Regions from separate parts of the Homo sapiens genome. Here region 1 is linked to region 2. Evidence: promoter capture Hi-C in 16 types of primary human blood cells and fetal thymus (Javierre and others, 2016). All regions are on one chromosome and are shown on one strand. Each heading gives the region's core, a stretch centred on a gene start or on the middle of the fragment in contact. The rest is flanking DNA. Distances are from core to core; before and after follow the strand shown. Region 1 overlaps CLASP1 (cytoplasmic linker associated protein 1). Region 2 holds the start of GYPC (glycophorin C (Gerbich blood group)).

Region 1 (4,356 bases), core at 1,457-3,956, 5.1 Mb before region 2:
CTCACACTGAGGAAGTGGTACTTTTTGTTAATTTAGGTAAAGTCTGCAGTTCTTAAGGGTTCAGTTGAGGAGTTTCCACGATGATATACACAGTGGAGCCACCCCCCAAAGCAAAATGTAGAACATTCCCATCACCTCAGAAAATTCCCCTCAGACCCTCTTTCAATCATTCTCCCCAACCTCAGCAGATTCTGCACCTCCACCCCCGGCACCACCCCTTTTGGCTGCAGAGGTGGTGGCCAGACATCTTATCTTGGAGGCTGGTCTGGATAACATCAATTTCTAGGCTAGTGATTTCTCAGCCCTGTGTATAGAAGAGGACAGACTGGCCACCACATTTACCAATTTTATACTTAAATGTAAACTTATTTTATACATTTGAATGTATAAATATTTTATAAATGCTAATGGGTACTGGATCTCTTAAATAATCATCAGTGTTCTGTGAAGATTAGGACTCCAGTCCCACCCACTACGGAACACCAGAATGCATCTCAACAGTCTGTAAGCAATGACTTCTCCCGAGGGTTTTCCTTCTCACTCACCTGGCTGTTTGGATCTCCAAGTAAGTTGCATATATGTGGCACAATCTTGCTTAGTGTTAAAGTCTGTGCTCCAGAGCTGAAAACAAAAGGAGTGCTTTCTTGTTAGTGAGAACTGAGGAAAGAAAGAAAGATGCCTGTCTGCCCACACCTGCCCTTCCCGTGTCTCCCCAATCCCCATCACCACCTCATACCAAGTCTCTCTCCATCCCATCCACACTGGCTCCAAAGTAAATGTGTCCGATGGCCCCTTTGCACAGAGTTCAAAACCTAGGGTGGCTTCTCCCAGATAAGTCTTCGTCCTGTCCCCCAGGGCTCTGGCCAATCTGGCCCTAACCCTTTAAGGCTGGGCCAGAGCTCCAGCCCCCCAGGTCCCGCTTGCCTCACAGGTGCTGCCTCTGCATTACTGTCTGTCACTTTAAGCCAACTACGAGTCACTTGAGGGACCTTGTTTAATTCTCCCGTGTGCTGTGGCAGAGCTAGACATTCAGGCAACACCGCTGGATGAAAAGACTGCAATCAAATCAGAGCATCTACCCTACTGGGGCACATCTGAGCCAAGTACTGCCCTACTGGGGCACATTTGAGTTACAATTTTCACCATCACCATCCCTGTCATGACAAATAGCCTTTGTGAATAAAAATCTCTTGGTTAATCTGCCTACTACCTTAGCATACATTCCTAAAACTGGAGCTACTGTGATCAAAGGCTAGAAGTTTTCTTTTTTTTTTCTTAAGCTTCAGTTACATATGGCCAAATTTAATGGCACTGAAAAGGCTAACATATTAAGATGGAAAAAATTTACAAGTAATATAAACATTATAATCTCAATTTTGTTTTTAAAAATAACATAACTTTACAGGTTAGGATAAAATGCACCAAATTTAACAGTGATTACCTGAAGGTAACAGAATCATAGCAATCTTTATTTTTTCCTTGCGTACATTTTTATGATATATACAGTATTTTTTCATAATCAGAAAAAAAGGCTTGAAATTTATAATTTTTAAAAAGCCTCTCCTACAAATAAGCACATGAAAAAAATGTTCACCATCAACAGCCATTAGATAAATACAAATTAAAACCACAATGAGGTATTACTACACACATATAAAAATGGCTAAAATAAAAAAATGACAACATCCAATGGCTAGCAAGGGTATGAAGAAACCAGATTATTCGGACATTGCTGGTAGGAATGTAAAACAGTATGGACAACTCTGGGGAAAAACTTGGCAGTACCTTTTAAACTAAAAATGAACTTACCAAATCACCCAGCAAGTGTACTCTTGGGCAGTGATCCAAGAGAGATGGAAACTTATGTTCATGTAGAAACTTGTACATGAATGTTCATAGCAGCTTTATTCATAAAAGCCAAAAACTGGAAATTACCCAAATGTTCTTCAACAGGTGACTAGTTTAACCAACTGTGACACATCTATACCAAGGAATTCTATTTAGCAATAAAATGAACTATCAAATGTCAGGTGCAAACTCAAGGGCATTATGCTGAGTGAAAAAAAGATAAACTCAAAAGGTTACATATTGTATAATTCCATTTACATAACATTCTTGAAATGACAAAATCATAGGGAGGGAGAACAGATTCCTGGAAATTCAAATACATTCATGGTTGCCAGGGGTCAGGGTGCAGCTACACACAGCAGCATGAAGGAGCCCGGCAGTGACTGTGCAGTTGTATATACACACAAATGCACATGTGGTTTTACCTGAGAAATTTGCGCAAGTTCTAGGGATTGTATCCATCTCAACTTCCTGGTACTGATGCTGTACTATAGTTATTCAAGGTGCTAACACTGGGCAAGGGTGGGTAAAGGGGGCATGAGATCTCACACTACACTTCTTTGCAACTTCCTGTAAATCTATAATTATTTCAAAATAAAAAGTTTTAAAAAATTCAGCCACGTAAAAATGTCAGGCTCATCCCAGACTTACGCATTGAGTGTTGCTATAAGGCAGAGACAGATGCCTTCTCGAGTACGGAAATTCTTGTGTTTGAAGCCTCCAAGCATTCTGTCCCATACGTACTGCAGATGACAAAGAACAGGTGAGGAAAGGAGAAGACTGCTGCAGCTGACACTTTATAAGGGAGCAATAGAAGGCAAGCCTCTTAACGAGCGCCAAATTAGTCCCATCCTCTACCAACACATTTAATCCTCTCGAGAGCATACTGGAAAATGATGACATCTATCATGTTATCAAGTATATCAAATTACAATTTTTAAAACACATTCATTTACATAATTGCATTTAATTCTCCCAAGAACCCTGAAAGAGAGGTATAACTGTCCTCATTTTATGGGTGAGGAAAGCAAGGCCAAAGGAGCTAGTGAGTTGCCAAAGATCACACACTCACACTGGCCTCTGTTTTTTCTGATCACCCCCCAATAAAGGACAGTAGAAGCTGGGAAAGCAGGGCTGTTTTGGTCCATCCCAGCAGCCCCAATTCACCGGAAGACAGGGGCCAGGGCTCCAGCCAGGCCTCCTGACTCCCCAGACACCACAGCTCCCTCTTTTCAGAGAATTGGAGAGTCGGTTACATAAATGAGCTGAAGAGTCTAATGGATTAAAACTAAGTATATTAGATTCAATACCCCCATGTTAAATCCACTAATTTACTCATCTCATAGTTTTGTGACTTATTTAAATATCTTGCATGGGGAAACAGATTGAATGCTGTGAAAATTTTTATCTGTAATACATCAGCTTAAGTCTATGGAGTCACACCATTTGTGCAAGTACACACACACACCCTCGCACGTGCATGCACGCGCACTGGCCAGCTGACCTCAAAACACATCTCTTGCCCCTACCTGGGGATTAGCAGCTTGATCCATGATCTTTAGCAGCAGAGTTTGGTCCTGCTCCCTCACAGAGTCTTTAGCATCTCCTAGTCTGTCTATTAGACTTGGCAGCACTGAAAATCAAAATGGAAACTGATCAAATGAAACCCTATTTGGGGGTCTGTGGTCACCAAGTATTCCTATCTCAATTATGTGGGAAGACAAACCCCTGACCTAAATGATGTATCTCATTCTAAAACCACTCATCTTTGCTCACAGCTCTACTCTCCTTGCTGAAGTCCATGAAAGTCACCAAAAGAGTCTGCAAAATCCTTTGCATGGACAGATACACTATTTGTCTTCCTCCTTACCCCACGTTCCTCCAGCCAGTTCCCAACGTATTTGTAAGCTGATAAAAATGGAAGACCTTGAGAGGAAGAGTCAACAGAAAGGAAAATTTAGGTAAAACACAAGGAGAGGGGCTCCAGTATATGTGTTTGGGGGTGGAAGGAGTGGGCACTTATGAATAAATCTTAAGTTTCATCACTATTGTGTATTTTTAGTTTTACATCACGCCCATACACACATGAGACAGAGCCCAGCTCTCCATCTTCCCCGACATACCCAGGGTGGACCCTCCCACCAGTGGTCCAAGTGCACCTGTAGACCAGAGATCAGCTTATTTTAAGAGTTTGTAAACCTCTATTACATGAGATATCCCTGAATAATTCAGCTAATTTAGGAGGAAAATGGAACACTATTAAAATATCAAATGTCTAAAAGTAAAAGCTTTTTTTAAATTTGTAAACAGTCGGTGCTCATGACCTTTTCAGAAGGAGCATATTGGTCGGAAAGTTAACAGTAAAGAATACATGTGTACCAACGTAAAACAGAGAAATTCCATAAGGAAATGGTTGCATAGAGATGCTTAGTGTTTATACTACCCCCATGAAACACCGGAGGTCAGGAATTTAGAGGTATTTAAATCTATGAAATCTGTGGGTTTTGT
Region 2 (4,407 bases), core at 1,387-3,886:
GATATAGCTGAGTTTTTTTTTTAACTTCATTAATAAATATCCAACACATGAAGACACACTAATAATACATTTCTTGACTTATGTCAGACTGTTACCATATAATTAAATTTTTCACATAATTATTTTCCCTTCTTAAGAGTCATTTATTTAACATTAGACACTTTCATAGTTAAATTTTCTAAAATATGTCAAATGTTTCCCTGTTAGCTAATTTGCTACACACTAAGACACACTATTTACTTTCTTTTTCAAATGACTTGGGGTCCTTACTATGAACAAAGTATGTGTTAGAGGAGGAAGGGGGCCAATATCTTTAAGTAACTCCAGTGTACTCTCATTGTAATTACCTCTTTAATTATTATCGAATATATTACTCACAACAGCCTAACTTTGCAGATTGCTCCAATTTCCAGGCTGAGAAAAATGAGGCTCAGAGAAAGAAAGTGAAATGCTGAAGGTTACGCAGCTAGTAGGCAGTAGAGTAACTAACCCAGATTGAGTTCCAAAGCCCTGTGGTCTTTAATAGCGCAAGGAACTGTCACATCCTCCAGTGATGGCTGGAGCTGAGATTGCTTTAGTTCTGTAACAAATGCTACTTCGTTCTTGTATCTGACCTCTGCAGTTTGTGGGGCTTTCAATTTTCACTGTTTAGTTCGTTAGTTTATTAATTTTTGGCTTATTTTCTGTAAGGAATTCTCTGCAACATTTTGATGCCTTCAACCTGTCTTACCCTAAGAAATTAAGGAAATCTCTTATGATTACGTCTAAGGCCAGTAGGTTCTAAATGAGTCTGTAAAAGTGACTTCTCTAAGTGTGCTGCAATGACCTAATGACTTGTCCGTTGTTACCTGGCAGAACTTTCTGCTTCTTTCCAACTTTCCAGCTGCATTTCAGATAATTAAAGTTATTTTCTCTCAGGACAGAGGAGCGGGACTACTGTTCCACGTAGACGTATGTGTATGTATTACCAAAAAAAAAAGTTAAACTGTTAAAGTAATCACGGGTGCAGTGGCTCACGCCTGTAATCCCAGCACTTTGGAAGGCCAAGGTGGGTGGATCACCTGAGGTCGGGAGTTCGAGACCAGCCTGACCAACATGGAGAAACCCCGTCTCTACTAAAAATACAAAATTAGCCAGGCGTGGAGGCACATGCTGGTAATCCCAGCTACTCGAGAGGTTGAGGCAGGAGAATTGCTTGAACCCAGGAGGCGGAGGTTGTGGTGAGCCGAGATCACGCCGTTGGACTCCAGCCTGGGCAACAAGAGCAAAAACTCCGTCTCAGAAAAATAAATAAATAAATAAATAAAAATAAATTAATCATTACTCATTGCTGTTTATTAAATGCCTTTTCTGTTCCCACTGTGATTCTACAATCACTGCCTCTGTAAAACCCCGGAATGCAGGTGTTCTTGCCTCCATTTTATAGATGAGGAAATCAAGACTCAGGGCTTCCCCACCAGGCCAAAGGCATTCTGTGAGTAGTTTATTTCAATTCAACATGGCTGTGCTGCACATGGCAGTTGGAGTAAAGATCTATCAGCATCGGGGGTTCTTCATGATCTAACTAAAGTGAATCATGAGTGCTTTCCCACTGCGTCAAGAAGGCCTGGAGTTTGTGCAGCCCGGCTAGAGGTGAGCAAAGCCTCTGTGTTGCAAATCTCCAGGGCGCAGCCTCTCATTGTATTCAATGCAGATGACAGTCCCAAAGGCACCGCCCATACATTGTACAGACAGCTGGCCTGGCTCTCCGGATTGTGCAGGATAGGCCTTAATGGCAGAAGGTAGGGGAGAGGTGGGCGTCACAAAAGTGCTTGGGGAACTATAAAGTAAACAATGAAAAGCAGCACAGGAAGGTTCAGACATCACACAGGAGAAGCACAGGGTGTTCCCCTGGGTGGGGATTTAAAACAAGGGCCTCAAGTTCCCTGCCCTTGTCTCTGGGCAGAAGGGGCAGATAATGCTATGATACATTTTTTGTAGGTGGTGCCATTTGACTGCATTTAACCAACAAAGGTATGTATCGAAATCCACGTGGAGATTTTCATGGCAAAAGTAGAGCGAATTCACAAACTGCACTGTGTCTGGCAGCTTCAGACAAAAGCAATGGGAACAAATCACGACTCTTGTCCAGCAATTCTTCCTGTTTTGGAATGATCTTTGCTCAACAGCCCATCCATGAGTACAGGGCCCCCAAAGGCCAACAAGACAGGGACTCTCTCCAGGGACAAATGCCCCGCAGCTGAGAGAGGCCGCCCAGCTATCCAGCGGCCGCGCAGCCAGCCAAGATTTCAACACAGGTCTGCCCTATTTGGTCACCATCCCCGACAGTGCTGGGCCAGGCCATCATGTCACATTGGGGAGTTTTCCCTGCACTCCAGGGGGAATTCTCAACCACAACCTCTGTATCCGGTAGTGGCAGATGGAAAGAGAAACGGTTAGAAAAGCGTGGTTCTTGCGCAGGAAAGTTGGAGCAAAGAAGAGTTCAGAAGTGGGCGGGTGTGTGTTTAAAAAAAAAAAAGGGGGTGGAAACCCCACCAGCCAAGTCTGCAGAAAAAAAATAAATGAAGTCTGCCTATCTCCGGGCCAGAGCCCCTCCCCTCGGCCCGCGCGGGAGGAGTGTGACCCAGGTGCCGCTTCCTCTCGCCGCCGAGGGTCAGGAGCCCGGGAGCGCGACCCTCCCCCGGCCCGGCCTGGCCCGGCCTGGCCAGTCCCCGCGGTCTCTGCCCGGGCTGACGCCCAGGAATGTGGTCGACGAGAAGCCCCAACAGCACGGCGTGGCCTCTCAGCCTCGGTGAGTACCCGCCGTGGGGAAGGGTCCTGGGGACCCACTGGAGGCCGCGGCCCGCAGCAGCCAGGGGCCGAGCCACGGCCACGGACGCCCTGGTGTCCCGGTCCGTGCCGGGCCTCCAGGCGGAGGAGGCGTCCGCTGGGCTCAGATCCCCGACTCCAGCCCCGGTTCCCCGGCGCCTGGGCTGCGCGGAGTCCCTGTCCCGCGTCCCGGACCCCTACGCGCAGCCTCCACGCGCTCCGAGCTGGAGAAGCCGCCAGCCCGCCCTCCCAGGGCGTGTCGCCCGCTTTCTGTTTCTTTGTGCGGGGCATGTGAAATGTGTGGGGCCAGAATTGTCTCCCTAAAGAACAGTTAGGTGAGAGTTCACATCACAAGTTGCTTCTGTGCTGCTCCCCAGCCAGGGTCCGACCGGCCAGGCTCCGGTGAACTCCAGGCAACTCCAGCCTTGCCCAGGGACTTGCTCGCTCCGCTGGGCGCCGCAAAGGCACACAGATGCGAGGGAATCCTGCGGCCTGGATCCTTTGGGGATTTGTAATTCCTCGCTGCTGGTTTTCTCTTTTAAACCATCACGTTTTCTTGCTGAGAGGAAATCATCTGTGATGAAAGTCTTTGTAGATGCTTGGAAACATTGCTGGGCCTCTCTCTGCCCTCTTCCTCTGCCGTTGGACTTTTGCAATAAAAACTACCATTTGATTTTACCAAAAAACGTAATGTACATCCCTCTTACCCCCACCCTGCCGCGGTCTGATTCTTAGAGTCTGTCAGAGAGGAGATACCCTGAGCCTATCATGTGACAATGATACCTTATTGATATGATAATGATATGGGTATTGGAGACACCAACTCTTTTATAAGTCTTTGAAATCCAGGGGGTTGTGAGGCCTCACCCCTCACCCCGCCTGAGCTTGGAGCTTGGCGTGGAGGAGTGCTGCTTCGGTCTACGTGTGTACACGGCACTCCATGTGCCTGTGGTTGTGCTTGCGTCAGCCTGGGAGTGCGCAGGCATCAGTGGTGCTTGGGAGCGAGGCCCCTCAGTCTGCACTGGGATCATCTGCACTGCCTATAAACAAGGCAGCCTCTCTTAGCTCCAGTTTCCTCATCTGCAAAGTAGGAAAGTAGGAATAATAACAGGAGATAACTCATCCAGCAGCACGAAGTGCGTATAAATGTCCCGGCACGGAGTCTGACACATCCTAAGTGCTGGATCCGTGCTGGGCATGTTTATATAATTGCACATGAGACTGTGGTTCCCGGAGCACGTAACTTGAGCATATGTTTATGTGTGTGTATACGGCAGGTCCTGGGTTAAAGGGACAGGAGCCACTGTCATTATTCCAATTCAGTCACTGAGGAGGTGAGGCTGAGAGGCATTCTCATGTCTGAAGAGGATGGGCTTGCCTGACCCCCGCCCCCGTGCCCAGCCCAGCCCAGCAGCCCAAGCAGTTCTCCAGGACTCAGGTTTCAGACCTTCAACACTTGCCTTGGGAGACAAACAGCGGTGCAGCCCTTGCTTGCAAGCCATTCCACATTAGACTTCGGATTGATTTATGGCAGGATCCCTGCTGTGCGAGAACTGCAGGGGGGGTGGGGGGCGGCTATTTCTTGCTGCTAACTCAGGC

What was found. The method cuts DNA at HindIII sites, captures the fragments that hold promoters and counts their contacts. A CHiCAGO score of 5 or more calls a contact.
Region 1: a contact is called between a fragment that was not itself captured here and the fragment with the promoter of GYPC in region 2, in 1 of 17 cell types (neutrophils). The highest score is 5.4, in neutrophils.

What each region holds. Positions count from the first base shown.
Region 1 is chr2:121,525,300-121,529,655 of GRCh38, forward strand. It overlaps CLASP1 (cytoplasmic linker associated protein 1), which reads right to left. Exons shown (of 41, transcript NM_001395891.1): 4 at 3,378-3,481; 5 at 2,500-2,591; 6 at 546-621. Among named protein-coding and RNA genes, the nearest start is that of CLASP1-AS1, 2.7 kb to the right of the region's middle. The HindIII fragment of the contact is 2,856 bases long and covers 1,279-4,134 here.
Region 2 is chr2:126,653,522-126,657,928 of GRCh38, forward strand. It overlaps GYPC (glycophorin C (Gerbich blood group)), which reads left to right and starts at 2,637. Exons shown (of 4, transcript NM_002101.5): 1 at 2,637-2,791. The coding sequence starts at 2,743. RefSeq lists enhancers at 2,287-2,576, 3,370-4,209, 3,667-3,916, 4,107-4,336 and a silencer at 2,667-3,036. The HindIII fragment of the contact is 9,683 bases long and covers 1-4,407 here.